Linked DNA regions of Homo sapiens: all the other regions are linked to region 2. The links are contacts of gene promoters, found by promoter capture Hi-C in blood cells and fetal thymus (Javierre and others, 2016). All regions are on one chromosome and are shown on one strand. Each heading gives the region's core, a stretch centred on a gene start or on the middle of the fragment in contact. The rest is flanking DNA. Distances are from core to core; before and after follow the strand shown.

Region 1 (3,720 bases), core at 855-3,354, 150 kb after region 2:
CACCAAAAATAACTTTTTAAATCCCTTTTAGTTGTCTTGACCATTTTGGGGAAGCCTCCACTCATGTAGCATTAGTCTCCCTGACACTGTTTTTGTAAATCTGTGCTACTCTCGGGTGTTTCTTCTTGGTTATGCATGCTCTTTCCGTCTTCCTACATAAGCATGTAAGATTTGACCACTTCAGATTGTATAGCCTTGTTAGCCACATTAGTTTAGGCTTCTAAGAAAGAAGAGAGTGCTGGGTGATCTGCCACATTCCTAGACTTCGGAAAAGTAGTCTCCCACTGGGGTCAGGGAAAAGCTGATATATTCCATGGCCTGTGGGGATGGCAGGCCTTTCCTTTGCCTGAGTGTTACTGCTCCAGCTGTGGGCAGGAAGCACAGGAGTCATTGAGATTTGGACCCTGCCTGCCTGGAGCCACCATCAAGTGGGGGAGGGAGGCAGCTGCTTGAACAAATAACAGTAGTGGCATGCGATAAGTGCTAATGAAGGTGCCCTGGGAATCCAGGGAAGGAGCCACAGATAATTCTATGTAGTAGGTAGGGGAAGAGGTGACACTGAGCTGATAAGCCAGGGAGGCCGCTCTAAGAGGCTGAGAAGGGCATTCCAGGCAATGAGAACTGCGTGTACAAAGCCTGGTGACATCAGAGAACATGGCCTGTTAGAAAAGCATGAGGGTCTTTTGTGGCCAGAATGGGGGCAAGGGTGAGGATGAGACAGGAACTGCGGGCTGGGGCCTCTGCTAACCTCCCACAGAGCTCATCCCAAACCCTAGTTTCCCACCACACTTAGGAGCCCATGATGGCCTTGTCTGACAGTCTTAGCACTGGCATCTTTTTAGCCACCTACTTAAAACACTTTGAGGCCAGACACAGTGTCTCACACCTATAATCCCAACACTTTAGGAGGCTAAGGCCAGAGGATCATTTGAGGCCAGAAGTTAGAGATCAGCCTGGGCAACACAGCAAGACTCAGGCTCTAAAATTAAAAAAAATAAAAATAAAATAAATTAGCTGGGCGTGGTACATGCATCAAGTCCTAGCTACTTGATAGGCTGAGGTGGGAGGATCGCTTGAGTCCAGGAGTTCAAGGCTGCAGTGAACTGTGATCACACCACTGCAGGAGTTCAAGGCTGCAGTGAACTATGATCATGCCACTGAACTCCAGCCTGGGTGAGAGTGTGTCTGTAAAATAAATAAATAAAACACTTTGTGTTATACTTGAGGGACTGATTTCTTATTTAGCTTTTTATTTTCACAGAATTTAAAAATTTATAGAAAAATAGCAGGGATCATACTTGGGACTTCACATACCCCAAATGTGTAGGTTTTGTCTCATGTATTTATCATCTTGTCTGTATAGACATATTTTTCCATATGCATATGGTTTTTTTCTGAATCATTTGAGATTAAATTGAGTACATGATGTTCCTCAACTTATGACTGAGTTACGTCCCAATAAACTAATCATCAATTGAAAGTATTGTAAGTCAAAAATAGGCATTTTATAGACATGATGGGTTGCTAAAACACAGAACACAATATCCAGAAAGCCCTAACAGCATGGAACACTGTGGAGCCTCAGTCGTTTACCTTGGTGATGGCGTGGTTGACCAGGGGATCTGGCTTGCTGCCACTGCCCAGCATCGCGAAAGTGTTGCTAGCCTCAGAAAAGATCAAAATTCAAAGTATGGTTTCTATTGAACGCCTGTCGCAAAGTCAGAATCTTAAGTGGAACCATCGTAAGTTGGGGACTGTCTGTACTGTCCCTTTACTCCTAAATACTTCAGTATGTGTATCCTGAGAACAAGGGCATTCTCTTACATAACCCATTGTCTAATGATCCAAGTCAAGATTAGGGATGACAGAATATTATCTTATCCACATCCATATTCACATTTCATGACTTGTCCCAAGTAAAAATAGTGTGCTTTTCCCCAGTCTAAGGTCTAAGCCATGAACACGCATTTAGCTGTTCTTTTTAAGGGAAGAGATTGTTCTCTTCAAAAAATTTCAAAGTCAAGAAAAACAATACAGGTACTTTCTAGAACGCCCTTCAATTTGGGTTTGTCTGATGTTTCCTTGTGATTAGATTCAGGTTATACATTTTGGCAGGAGTTCTATGTGAGTGGTGTTAAGTCATCCGCAATGTCTTACATCAAGAGGCACATGGTGTTGTTTTGTCTCAGTATTGGTGATGATTGTAACTTTGGTCATTTGGGTTAAGGTGGTGTCTGTCTACCAGATCTCTCCACTACAGTTACTATTGTAATTATGTAATTTTAGAGATGCTTTGAGACCGTGTATACATCCTGTACCTCATCATGCTTTCACCTGCTGCCACTGATGTCTTTTTAAATCCATCAGTCCTTCTGTGTTTTCTCTTAGCATTCTACAGTAAGGAAGAGCTTTCCTTTCCTAAGGGATGGGTCTGCAAACTCAATTTCACATCTTTGTATTCACTTTTCTCTTCCTCTCATCCTTCCCCTTTGGTGTGCTTTTGGGGATATGAGGTATATGGTGGTGGCTCTCGTGCTTGGGGAGAGGCCTGAATCCTTCTCTAAGCAGCAACTTGCTTGTCTTTGGCAGGACTGACCTGGCATGGGGCTAAACGCATGCTGTGTCAGATCATCGGCGTTTCCCTCAGGCCTGGGGCTGTGTGTGGGAATGTGGTCTGTTGCCAGCTTTCTGTGCTCAGCCTGGGCTTAAGTGAGGACAGTTTTAGGGGGAGAAAAGAACTATGGGTCCCCACTAGGAAGCCATGGCTGACCCATGGTCCAGGCTGAATTTGTTCATCAAAGCTCCTCTTTCCCTACCCCTACGAACCCACACTTCACACTTAGAGCACGTGTGTACACACAGGCTTGGTTGGATTTCTTTCCATCTTGACAAAAAACAAAATAAAGTCCTAGTGTGACTTTGATCATTGTGAATTAAGGACCTTTTTGTGTGTCTCTGGTTTTAGGAGAGCCTCATTTGTGTGATTGATCTGAGGCTCTAAAAGTTTCTGAGCAACATTAAGAATGTCTCATTAGGATCTTCTCTTTAAAAATATCTTAAAGATCTTCTTTTTGTTTCTGCTGGTGAAGCTCCCTAGGGAACCAGAGACATGGGAAGATGAATTGGAGGCTCAAGAAGTACCAGAGAGAGGATTTGCAAGAAAAGTTGGGGTCAGATGTGCACCTGAGTGGTATGAAGCAGGGAAATGCTTTTCAAATAGTGTGGTTCATTTTTTTCCTTTTTCCCCCTTCTCTCTCTCTTTAGACAGGCTCAGAGCTCAGCCCAGTTGATGGACCTGTTCCAGGTCAGATGGACTCAGGGCCAGTGTACCATGGGGACTCACGGCAGCTAAGCGCCTCAGGGGTGCCGGTCAATGGTGCTAGAGAGCCCGCTGGACCCAGTCTGCTGGGGACTGGGGGTCCTTGGCGGGTAGACCAAAAGCCCGACTGGGAGGCTGCCCCAGGCCCAGCTCATACTGCTCGCCTGGAAGATGCCCACGATCTGGTGGCCTTTTCGGCTGTGGCCGAAGCTGTGTCCTCTTATGGGGCCCTTAGCACCCGGCTCTATGAAACCTTCAACCGTGAGATGAGTCGTGAGGCTGGGAACAACAGCAGGGGACCCCGGCCAGGGCCTGAGGGCTGCTCTGCTGGCAGCGAAGACCTTGACACACTGCAGACGGCCCTGGCCCTCGCGCGGCATGGTATGAAACCACCCAACTGC
Region 2 (3,622 bases), core at 398-2,897:
AGCAGAGTCAGGAAGGCCAGTCAGGAAGCTGCGCCCCACTCCAGGCCAGATAGGACTGGAGCCTGAGGCAGCGCAGGCCAGCAGGGATTGAGGGAGGACACAGAGCTGAGGGGCATTTCTGGTCGGGGGAGCACCAGGCTGTGGTGCCCAGGTGGTTGTGGGAGCATGAGGGAGACACAGGGTTCTAGACTGACTGACTTCTAGCTTGAAGGGCCGAGGGGTGGACTTGGAAGTTGGCAACCCAGGAGGCACAGCAGCTTTGAGGGTAGGGAAGAAGGGTTCAGTTTTAGACAGGATGAGTTTGAAGAGCTGGAGAGTCATCTGGATTGGGATGTCCAATAGGCAATTGATCATTTTAGTCTGGATCAGGGTGAGGGAGGGGGACCATGAGAATGTGGAGTTGAAAGTAATACTGCAGAGCTGGTAGCTGATAATGTGGGAAATGAACCAGCTACCTAGGGATAGTACATGAATTACACAAAGAAGAGCAATCATCAGCCAGCCATGGTGGCTCACACCTGTAATCCCAGCACTTTGGGAGACCAAGGTGGAGGGATTGCTTGAATCCAGGAGTTCAAGATCGAGACCCTGTCTAATTAAAAACAAAACAAACAAACAAAAAGAAGTCCAGGCGTAGTGGCTCACACCTGTAGGCCAAGGCAGGTGGATCACGAGGTCAGGAGCTCGAGACCAGCCTGGCCAACATGGTGAAACCCTGTCTCTACTAAAAATACAAAAATTAGCTGGGCATGGTGGCAGGTGCCTGTAATCTCAGCTACTCAGGAGGCTAAGGCAGGAGAATTGTTTGAACCTGGGAGGCGGAGGTTGCAGTGAGCCGAGATTGCACCAATGCACTCCAGCCTGGGGGATAGGGCGAGACTCTATCTCAAAAAAGAAAAAGAAGCAGCTCAAGAATCACAGGACTGTGGAAAATCCTACAGGCCAAGAGTCTTGTTAGGTGTGCCTCAACCCTGAAGCAGGTCCCTCAGTCTGCAGATATTTAGAGATATTTAAAGGAAAACCAGGAAGGAGCCAAGAGAGAATGAAGCCTAAGGTGTCCTGAGACCCTCAGAGAACTCAGCCCAAGGGTTAGGAGCTTGTGTCAAGGTGCAGCAGGTGAGTAGGGCACGCAGGATTTCTTTCCTGGGTACGGAAGGCATTTCTCTTCAGCTTTCATTGGTCCCAGGCTCGTGCCAGACAAGGCATGATTGCACCCATTTTGGGGACAGTGCCTGGGCGTCCCAGGCAGACCCAGGGGCCGCATGCAGCAGGGCCTGAGGAGGGAGGTGTGGACGGAGGAGGCCCGCTGCCATTCTTGGTATGGTTCTCACTCCAGGAGCACAGCTGCATCTGGTCTCACTCTGGGCAGCTTATAAGGCCTGGTGTGAGTTTTGTTTATGCAAGTGCAGCATAAAAGGAACAAATCTACCAGCACCGGGGCTGTTGCCACTGAGTCCTTTTGCATACATTTTTCAAATGATAACTCACTCTACCCACCCCCCTTCCCTACCCCCAAGGCGATTTATTGAAAAAACCACCTTATATGGTAATATTGCTAACACACCGTCAGCTGGCCTTTTTAGGGACTTTGTTTAAAGAAGATCCGCCTCTGGGGTTTTATATTGCTCTGGTATTCATGCCAAAGACACACCAGCCCTCAGTCACTGGGAGAAGAACCTCTCATACCCTCGGTAAGTACTGTACGGCTTTTGCCACCTCTTCCTTTCCGGGGCTGCCTGGCCTCCTGGGTGCGGGAGGTGCCTCCAGATTGGCCTGGCTTCTGTGACGCTGGCCCAGATCACACACCAGAGCCCTTGGTGGGCAGCGGCACCTGCAAGCATACTGCAGCCTGCTGAGAAAAGGCGTATCTGGCCATGGGACATCCTGGGGCAGGGGCAGCTTGGAACCGTGCTCCCTGCCTCAGAATGGGGACTGGCGGGATATAATGCCTGCAGTCTCTACTAGCCCTGCTCCCCAGGGCCAGTGCAGATCCACACCCTGATGTCCTTTGTCTTGGGTTAGAATGTCTGGGAGGCTGTTTTAGGGGATCATATACTTTGCAGAAAAGCAGCTTTTCAGAATACTTGAGTCAAAGCCAACAGTGGTCCTGGTGTCTGTGAGCTGTTTAGTCCATGAAATGTCTGTGCTGGGAATGGGAGGGTATTTTCTTCAGGTCCCCTGTGGGTCTCTCTGTCCTCTGATCTGTGCTTGGCTGAGGAGAATGGAGGGTTTCTGCAGTCCTTGAAGGCTCTAGGATCATTGGGGGATGGAGAAAATTCCACTTGCCCTGTGGCATCGTGAGGTTTCAGGGTAGAAGGAACTTGGGACCCATCTAGTTCATTCTCCTCTGATGAGGACATTGAGGCCTAGAGACGTACAGCCACTCATCCAAAAGACTCACACCCAACTGTGACCCATTTGCAGATGTCATTACTCCCCCCAACCCACCCAACACACACACAACACATGCACAAAGAATTAAGAGGAAGATGAGATGAAGGGGCCACTTCTATGTTTGGCATCAGAATTCACTAGCATCTCTTCACAGGTGAGGCAGGCTGGGTGTGGCAGTGCAGGCCTTGAAGGCAGACTGTCAGGCTAACCAAGTTACTGAGCGACCTCAGCTTCCTCACCTGTAAAATGGGGGCAAGAATAATAATATCTACTTGGCGATGGTGTGAGGATTAAACGAGAGAATGCGTATATACAGCACTCAGCTCAAGGCTGTCAGGGCCCGGCCCTGAGTTCTCAAACTTTAAGAATCACCTGGAGTGCTTGTTAAAACACAGATTGCCCCATGCCCCACCCCAGATTCTGATTCCAGTAGGCCGAGATATGGCCTGATACTTGGAATTCCTAACAAGCTCCCAGGCGACACTGAAGCTGCTGGTCTGGGACCACACTTTGTACAGGGAGGCTCTAAGTGCTCACTTTGATTACTTGAATGTGGGTTTGGACTCTGATACTAACCCTTGGGCTGAAAAGAGGAAGAGCTTCCTGTGACAGAGAGGGATGGGTGCTGGAGAAACTGCAATGAACAGTAAGATCCTACATGCCAGGCCTGAGAAAAGGGGATGGGCCGTGTGACATCATGACCTTGGGGCGAGATATCTTTCCTCTTTCCCCTTGTTCATTCTGCCAACATTTATTGAGCACTTATTATGGGCCAGGCACTGTCTCTGCTCCTTAGGGACAGTGGAGAGGCTTCTGCAGTTACTGGAAGAGACAGATAAACAGATGAGAACCATGGAGCAAATAAGTACACGAAAGGGGTAAAGGCCAGGAGGAGCCCATCACTCAACCCAGGAGTTATCAGGGAAGACTTCCTGGAGGAAGAGGTGCCTGAGCTTGGTCCTGAAGTAAGGACCAAGCTTGGTCCTTCCTGGTAAAGAGGAAGCATGGTCTTTGGGACTCAAGTGGCTCAATTCCACTGAATTTAGATAGCAAGGCAGGAATCAGGTAAAACTAAATTCAGAGGGGTCCGCAGGGCTGGATTACAAGGGCTTTAGACTCTAAAGGATCAGGCTATGGGGAGCCATGGAAGGGTTTTAATCTGGAGGGTATCTGTTGAAGGGGCTGCTTTGGCAGCTGTGAGGAGAGTGGACTGGAACAGGGCAAGAGC
Region 3 (3,201 bases), core at 608-3,107, 170 kb after region 2:
TTTTTTTTTTTTTTTTTTTGAGACAGAGTATCACTCTGTCACCCAGGCTGGAGTGCAGTGGCGCGATCTCGTCTCATTGCAACTTCCGCCTCCTGGGTTCAAGCCATACTCCTGCCTCAGACTCCCGAGTAGCTGGGGTTACAGGCGTGCACCACCACGCCTGGCTAATTTTTGTATTTTTAGCAGAGATGAGGTTTCACCATGTTGACCAGGCTGGTCTCTAACTCCTGACCTCAAGTGATCTACCCACCTCAGCTTCCCAAAGTGTTGGGATTACAGGCCTGAGCCACCATGCCTGGCCTGAAACTTTTTTTTTTTTTAATGGAGTATGCCAGGCTTCTCATGTAAGATCACTTTGAGAAGTCTAATTGTCCCACCGTTGGTGAAGCCCAGGTGTCACTAGGTTAAGGTGGTAAGAGCAAGAGCCAGGTCTTGCCATTATAAAGTTATGTTTTCCCCTTTGTGTCCAGCAAATAATTTGTCAGGCAATACTTCACCACCATGTGATTATCCAGTTCCCCATCAATCTTTAGTCATATCATGTCTACTGATGATCCTTGTGTAAGTTAATTTTTCATTAGGGATTGCAAACTGATGATATTCTAATTCTGTCCATCCTTTTTTTACGTTTAATACCTTACAAAACCTGAAAGATGCTCAATAATTCAGTCACAGAAGGACAAATGCTGCATGATTCCACTTATATGAGTTTTTGTAAAATAGACTTATAGAAGTAGCAAATAGAATGTGATTGCTAAGGGATGGGGGAGGGGGAGATGAGTTGTTCAGTGGGTATAAAGTTACAGTTATGCAAGATGCGTAAGTTCTAGAGATCTGCTGTACAGCATACTAAACATACCATATTGTGCAGTTAAAAGTTTAAGAGGGCAGATCTGGCCTGGTGCAATACCTCTGCCTGCAATCCCAGCACTTTGGGAGGCCGAAGTGGGAGGATCACTTGAACCCAGGAGTTTGAGACCACCCTGGGCAACAAAGCCCATCTCTGCAGACAAAAAAAAAAAAAAAATAAGTAAAATAGATTCTGAAAGAAGGGTAGATCTTATCTTTAGAGTTCTTACCAAAAAAAGTGCTGTTCTTCATTTGATTACTTTCTAAGTAAGAAAGCCAGGATAATGCATAATTTTCCCCTTAATTACCAATTGTCAGAATATAAGAGTTGGCTTAATATCACATTTCATCAGTTGGAAGAAGTGTGAGCATATGTGGCTTTATACTACTTAAAAAGCATCTCAAAGCTCTCTGAAGTCGGGATATAGCTTATAATCAATGATGTCTTATACTAGTTGTTGGCCAGGCAGCCATTATGGCACCCGTATACACGCATGAATTTGGTCATAGCTTTTCATATTGTTATCTCGGTGAGTTATGAATATTGTTAGTATTATGTGTGTTAAGATTAAATACTGTTTAAATTGTCTTCAAAAAGAGTACAGTGTGATTCAGTATTGAAACAAAGTTATTGTGTGTAGAAACATGGAAACTAAGCTTCTGAGCATTTCTTTTTTATTTTTTTTGAGACAAGGTCTTACTCTGTCTCCCAGGCTGGAGTTCGGTGGTGTGATTCCCACTCACTACAACCTCTGCCTCCCAGGCTCAAGTGATCCTCCCACCTCAGCCGTTTGAGTAGCTGGGACTACAGGCGTGCGTGCCACCACGCCTGCCTAATTTTTGTTTGTTTATTTGTTTTTTGGTAGAGGTGGGGTTTCACCATGTTGCCCAGGCTGGGCTCAAGCAATCTGCCCACCACAGCCTCCCAAAGTACTGAGATTATAGGCATGAGCCACCACAGCTGGCCCAGATTTTTTTTTCAATAAATATACTGGAACGCTTTTTGGAGATTTGTAAAAAATTTGAAAAAACTGACAAAATGCATAGCCTAGAAATATTGAAAAAATTTATTAATAAATGGTAAATATGTCACAAATACATAAAATATATGTAGATACTAGTCTATGTGTTAATTATCTGTTATCAGTAAGACTTCCAGTCAACAGTAGGCTATTAGTAAAGTTTCAGAGAAGTCAACAGATATATGCAGGTTTTCAACCACACTGGGAGTTAGTGCCCCAACCTCCATGTTGTTCAAGAGTCAACTGTATTCTTGTAAAACATGCAACTCATTTACTGCATTTAGCTTATATTTTTCTTTTTATGTATATATAGTGATAGATCCATCTAAGCAAGTCTAAAAGCTTTTTCAATGAATATGAGATAAAAAGTGAAAGTGATTATGTATAGTATTGCCATGGTTTAAGTGACAAGGTTTATCTTTTAATGGTAACTCATAGAAATTATGCATATTATAGCAGTTAAAATGAAAATGAAGTGAATAGTCACCTTCAAGGACAAAGGAGTGTTTGTTATTTTTTCCTCTTTTCTCTTTTTTGAGCATCATTATGGACTAATGAATATTTATATATTTAATGAGTTTTAGTTACAGTCATTCTTCTTGCTCAGATTGTCCCAAATTTGGCCAGTGGGATGCCCCTTCAGGCCAGCTCCTGTGGTCTTTGGACATACCTCACCCCAGATCATTCTTTGATCATTTCTTTGCTTTTTGTTCAACAAGAAATATCCAGGGCACATCATCCTTTTCCTGCCTCAGACCTTGAATTAACCATTTCTCCAAGACCACCTGATTTCTTTTTTTTGTTTTTTTTTTTTTTGGCTTGGTCACCTGGTTCGTCCGTCCTTCCTTCCGTCCGTCCGTCCGTCCGTCCTTCCTTCCTTCCTTCTCTTTCTCTCTCTTCTTTTCTTTTTTCTTTCTTTCTTTCCCTTTCTTTTCTTCTTTCTTTTTCTTTCTTTCTTTCCTTCTTTCCTTTTCTTTCCCTTTCTTTCCTTTCCTCTTCTCTTCTCTTTTGTTTTTTCTTTTTTTAGACAGAGCGAGGCTCTGTCTCAAGGCTGGAGTGCAGTGGTGCGACCTCAGCTCACTGCAACCTCCGCCTCCCAGGTTCAAGTGATTCTCCTGCCTCAGCCTCCTGAGTAGCTGGGACTACAGGCACCCGCCACCATGCCAGCTAATTTTTTGTATTTTTAGTAGAGATGGGGTTTCACTGTGGTAGCCAAAATGGTCTCGATCTCCTGACCTCGTGATCCGCCTGCCTTGGCCTCCCAAAGTGCTGGGATTTCAGGTGTGAGCCACCGCGCCTGGCCCACCTGGTTCCTTTTAAGGGATAATGG
Region 4 (3,558 bases), core at 941-3,440, 240 kb after region 2:
GATGTATTCTCTGAAACTGCAGGTCACTTTCACTTTATTCTGTTTTTTTGTTTGTTTTTTTGAGACGGAGTCTTGCTCTGTCTCCCAGGCTGGAGTGCAGTGGCACAATCTTGGTTCACTGCAACTTCTGCCTCCCGGGTTCAAGCGATTCTCCTGCCTCAGCCTCCTGAGTAGCTGGGATTACAGGCGCGTGCCATCATGCCTGGCTAATTTTTGTATTTTCAGTAGAGACGGGGTTTCACCATGTTGGTCAGGCTGGTCTCAAACTCCTGACCTTGTGATCCCCCCCCCTCGGCCTCTCAAAGTGCCAGGATTACAGGTGTGAGCCACCACGCCTGGCCTATTCTGTTCTTTAGAAGATCACCATATTGAGCCCACTCTTAAGAGAAAGACAAATAGGTTCCACGCAGGGAATCAGTGTGTCTAATTTTGAGGTCTCTCCATTCTCACTGACCACTGCCGTCCTGCTGGCCTCTGGGATTCCAAGCTTGGGTGTTTCCTCACCGTATCACCTGAAAGCCGTCCCTGGGGTGTCTAGCTGTTTCAGAGGTGGCTCGGGCCTTCAGGCACAGTTCTCTGTTTTGTCCCAACCTTCTCAGCTCTGATACAACTGAGTGATTCTACTGCTTGTAAGAGGCAGTTCTGCCCTGGCAGGTACCAATCCTTCCCAACCCCACTGTGCAGATAGAGAATATTTTAAAATTACAAAACGGGGGCACAATGTATGAACAGAATATTTGAAATTTTTTTCTGCCCTCAAAAATCTGGGGCCCAAGGTTGTTATATCTTCATGTCCTCATTTCTTAGGGAGGTACCTTCAGAACCAATAGTGACCCCTAACTTCTCTGGTGGTCGGTTCCATGAAAGGCAAAGGAGTGTGAGAGAGGAGTGGATGGTCAACCTCCCACTGCCATGGTAACATGGGTGCTGGCTGATGGGAGCAGAAAATAATTTAGTGAAAGTCTGTGGGGGCAGTCACAAGATGTCTGAGAAAACTGGCGAGCCAGCTGCTGAAAACAGGGACAAGGAAGCCTCCGTGGCTGGAGCCCAAATCACACTGCAGACCCAGACACCGTGACCACCACCATGGACTCCAGAGAGAGCAGCTTATAGTACTCAATCAGCTGCCACTACCACCATCCAGAACACCAGATGTTGTAGCCATGGCTGCAGCAGGAATGGATGTCCCACTGTCCCTGCTCCTCGGTGTGACTTGCTCCCAAGTTCAGGGCAGGTCCATCTGATTGGCTGAGTCTGGAATATCTGCCTGTGCCTCAGCTGTGAGGGAGGCAGGGAAAGTAAGCCTTTTCAGCTTCTGTCGTGGGAGGTGGGCTCTGCCTCCTACCAAGAATCAAAGGGTGGAGGATCTTCAAACACAGGAAAAGAACCCGGATCCTGGCACCCCCAAATTTTCAGAGTCCATTTCAGAGCATAAGAAATTGAGGGTCCAAGATCATTCATGTAAGAAGTTTAGAGGGGGAAGAAAAGAATGATAAACGAAAAGAACAGCAATAGTAAAGGATCTTTTCTTTGTTTCAGTAAGATGAAGAGGCCTGAGCAGTTTCGTGGAGGGGAAGAAACAGGAAAACCTCTTCAAAAGACAAAAAGCTGGCACTGCATTCTCTCTCTGTAGCAGGACAGAACTGTCTAAAGACAAGACCCCTTTGGCCAAAATAAAGGAACCTGAAACATTACTAATGACCCTTCAAAAGCTTCAGTTGTTTGTTTCCTTTAATTAACATCTAAATAGATTATACATCTTCTATAATTATAATATGGAAATGTATATGAGCAAAATATATAAATTTTTTGGTGACTGCTTAGGGAAGAATGATGTCAGTGAAGTTCATCCAAGGTCTTAAGCAGCAGCATCTATGCAGCCAGGGCGTGGTCAGCGTTTGGGGACAGAGGTAAATATCCGCAATCCATGCATCTCTTTGATTTCTTCTTTTAGTGCCTAAGTAAGAAAACAGCATCATCAGTTTTTGTGTATTTGACGTTGATTACAGTAATTCTCTGAGAGTATTTTTATACAGCTCTGCATCTGAAGGAGACTTTGTATGTGCTTTGTTTAAGCAATTTTTCCTTTTTTTGAAAAACAATTTTTTTTAAATCAATAATATCTAACATGATTTAAAGATTCAAAGGTACAAAAAGGCATTCAGGGAAGTCTCCCTCCTATACCTGTCCATCTCCCCAGTTTCCACCCTTGTTCCCAAAAGAACTGTTGTTAGTTTCTTGTGTATCTTTTTTTTTTTTTTTTTTTAAGTCATGGTCTCGCTCTAGCGCCGAAGTTGGAGTGCAGTGGCGCGATATCGGCTTACTGCAAACTCCACCTCCTGGGCTCAAACAATCTTCCTGCTTCAGCCTCCCTAGTAGCTGGGACTACAGGCACATGCCACCATGCCTGGCTAATTTTTTTATTTTTTGTAGAGGCAGGGTCTCACTATATTGCCTAGGCTGGTCTTGAACTCCTGGACTGGAGCAATCTGCCTGTCTTGGCTTCCCAAAGTGCCGGAATTACAAGCGTGAGCCACTGCACCTGGCCAGTTTCTTGTGTATCTTTACAGGGACTTAAAAATGCATATTCACCAGGCATATTCAAGCTAATATATTTCACCCCATGACCTTTTAAAACGCAAATGGTTAAAATTTCAAACACATTACACCAAGCTTGTCCAACCCACGGCCCATGACAGCTTTGAATGTGGCCTAATATAAATTCGTAAACTTTCATAAAACATTTTGAGATTTTTTTTGAAATTTTTTTTAAAGCTCATCAGCTATCATTAGTGTTAGTATATTTTATGTGTGGCCCAAGAGAATTCTTCTTCCATTGTGGCCCAAGGAAGCCAAAGGACTGGACACCCCTGCTCTACACTTTGCTCTTCCCCCAAACATCTATCTTGGAGATCTTTCTATGTTAGGCATATATGGGTGTCCTGATTCTTTTTTGCATCAGCATAGTATTCCATTATATGAATGCATTATAACTTTTCAACCTGTCCCCTAGCGAACTTTTAGGCTGTTTCCTGTGTTTTGTTATTTCGAGCATCAAGCATTCTTTAAAATGAGCAGTTCTTTAAAATCATACCAATTAGCACAAATTCCCCAATGGTCAGAGCAGGAAATAAAGTTTCAAAGGAATTATGGGACTTGTTTTAAGGCTACAAATGGTGTCAGAGCCCAAATCTGAAGGAACTACCAGAGTCAAATAGATATTTGGCCCCTGTAGTGCTGGGAGAAAGTGAGGTTACAGAATCAGAGTGGGGCTTGGACCGCTCAAGTTTATAATCAGTACAGAGGAAGAAATAAGGTCCTTTTATACTAGGCCAAAATCTGATAATCATACTAGAGTGGACATTTTTCTTTTCTAGTCTCTTTAGTGATCTCCTTCTCTTGGGGAATAATTCCTTTTCCACTCTATTGTATAATTCTGGTGGAACCACCAATTGGTCTGATATTGAGGTCATTATGTGCCACTGGCCCAGCCTATGATTGGACCGAGGTGGCACATGACCCAAATTGGGCCACTTAGAATCTCCCTTGGGATTTCTG

The links. Contacts are between HindIII fragments. The CHiCAGO score rates a contact against its expected background, and 5 or more counts as called.
Region 1: a contact is called between a fragment that was not itself captured here and the fragment with the promoter of ACTG2 in region 2, in 2 of 17 cell types (activated CD4 T cells and naive CD8 T cells). The highest score is 8.8, in activated CD4 T cells.
Region 3: a fragment that was not itself captured here is called in contact with the fragment with the promoter of ACTG2 in region 2 in 4 of 17 cell types (activated CD4 T cells, naive CD4 T cells, naive CD8 T cells and 1 more); the score reaches 5.8 in activated CD4 T cells.
Region 4: a fragment that was not itself captured here is called in contact with the fragment with the promoter of ACTG2 in region 2 in 9 of 17 cell types (activated CD4 T cells, naive B cells, total CD4 T cells and 6 more); the score reaches 12.4 in activated CD4 T cells.

What each region holds. Positions count from the first base shown.
Region 1 is chr2:74,043,014-74,046,733 of GRCh38, forward strand. TET3 (tet methylcytosine dioxygenase 3) reads left to right here. Exons shown (of 12, transcript NM_001287491.2): 4 at 3,265-3,720. Among named protein-coding and RNA genes, the nearest start is that of TET3, 60 kb to the left of the region's middle. The HindIII fragment of the contact is 7,830 bases long and covers 1-3,720 here.
Region 2 is chr2:73,891,361-73,894,982 of GRCh38, forward strand. It overlaps ACTG2 (actin gamma 2, smooth muscle), which reads left to right and starts at 1,648. Exons shown (of 9, transcript NM_001615.4): 1 at 1,648-1,691. RefSeq lists an enhancer at 724-1,537. The HindIII fragment of the contact is 3,877 bases long and covers 1-3,369 here.
Region 3 is chr2:74,062,883-74,066,083 of GRCh38, forward strand. All of the region lies in intron 4 of TET3 (tet methylcytosine dioxygenase 3), which reads left to right. Among named protein-coding and RNA genes, the nearest start is that of TET3, 80 kb to the left of the region's middle. The HindIII fragment of the contact is 707 bases long and covers 1,505-2,211 here.
Region 4 is chr2:74,133,702-74,137,259 of GRCh38, forward strand. It overlaps BOLA3 (bolA family member 3), which reads right to left. Exons shown (of 4, transcript NM_212552.3): 4 at 1,699-1,957. The coding sequence ends at 1,892. It also overlaps a transcript of TET3 not described here. Among named protein-coding and RNA genes, the nearest start is that of BOLA3, 12 kb to the right of the region's middle. The HindIII fragment of the contact is 961 bases long and covers 1,711-2,671 here.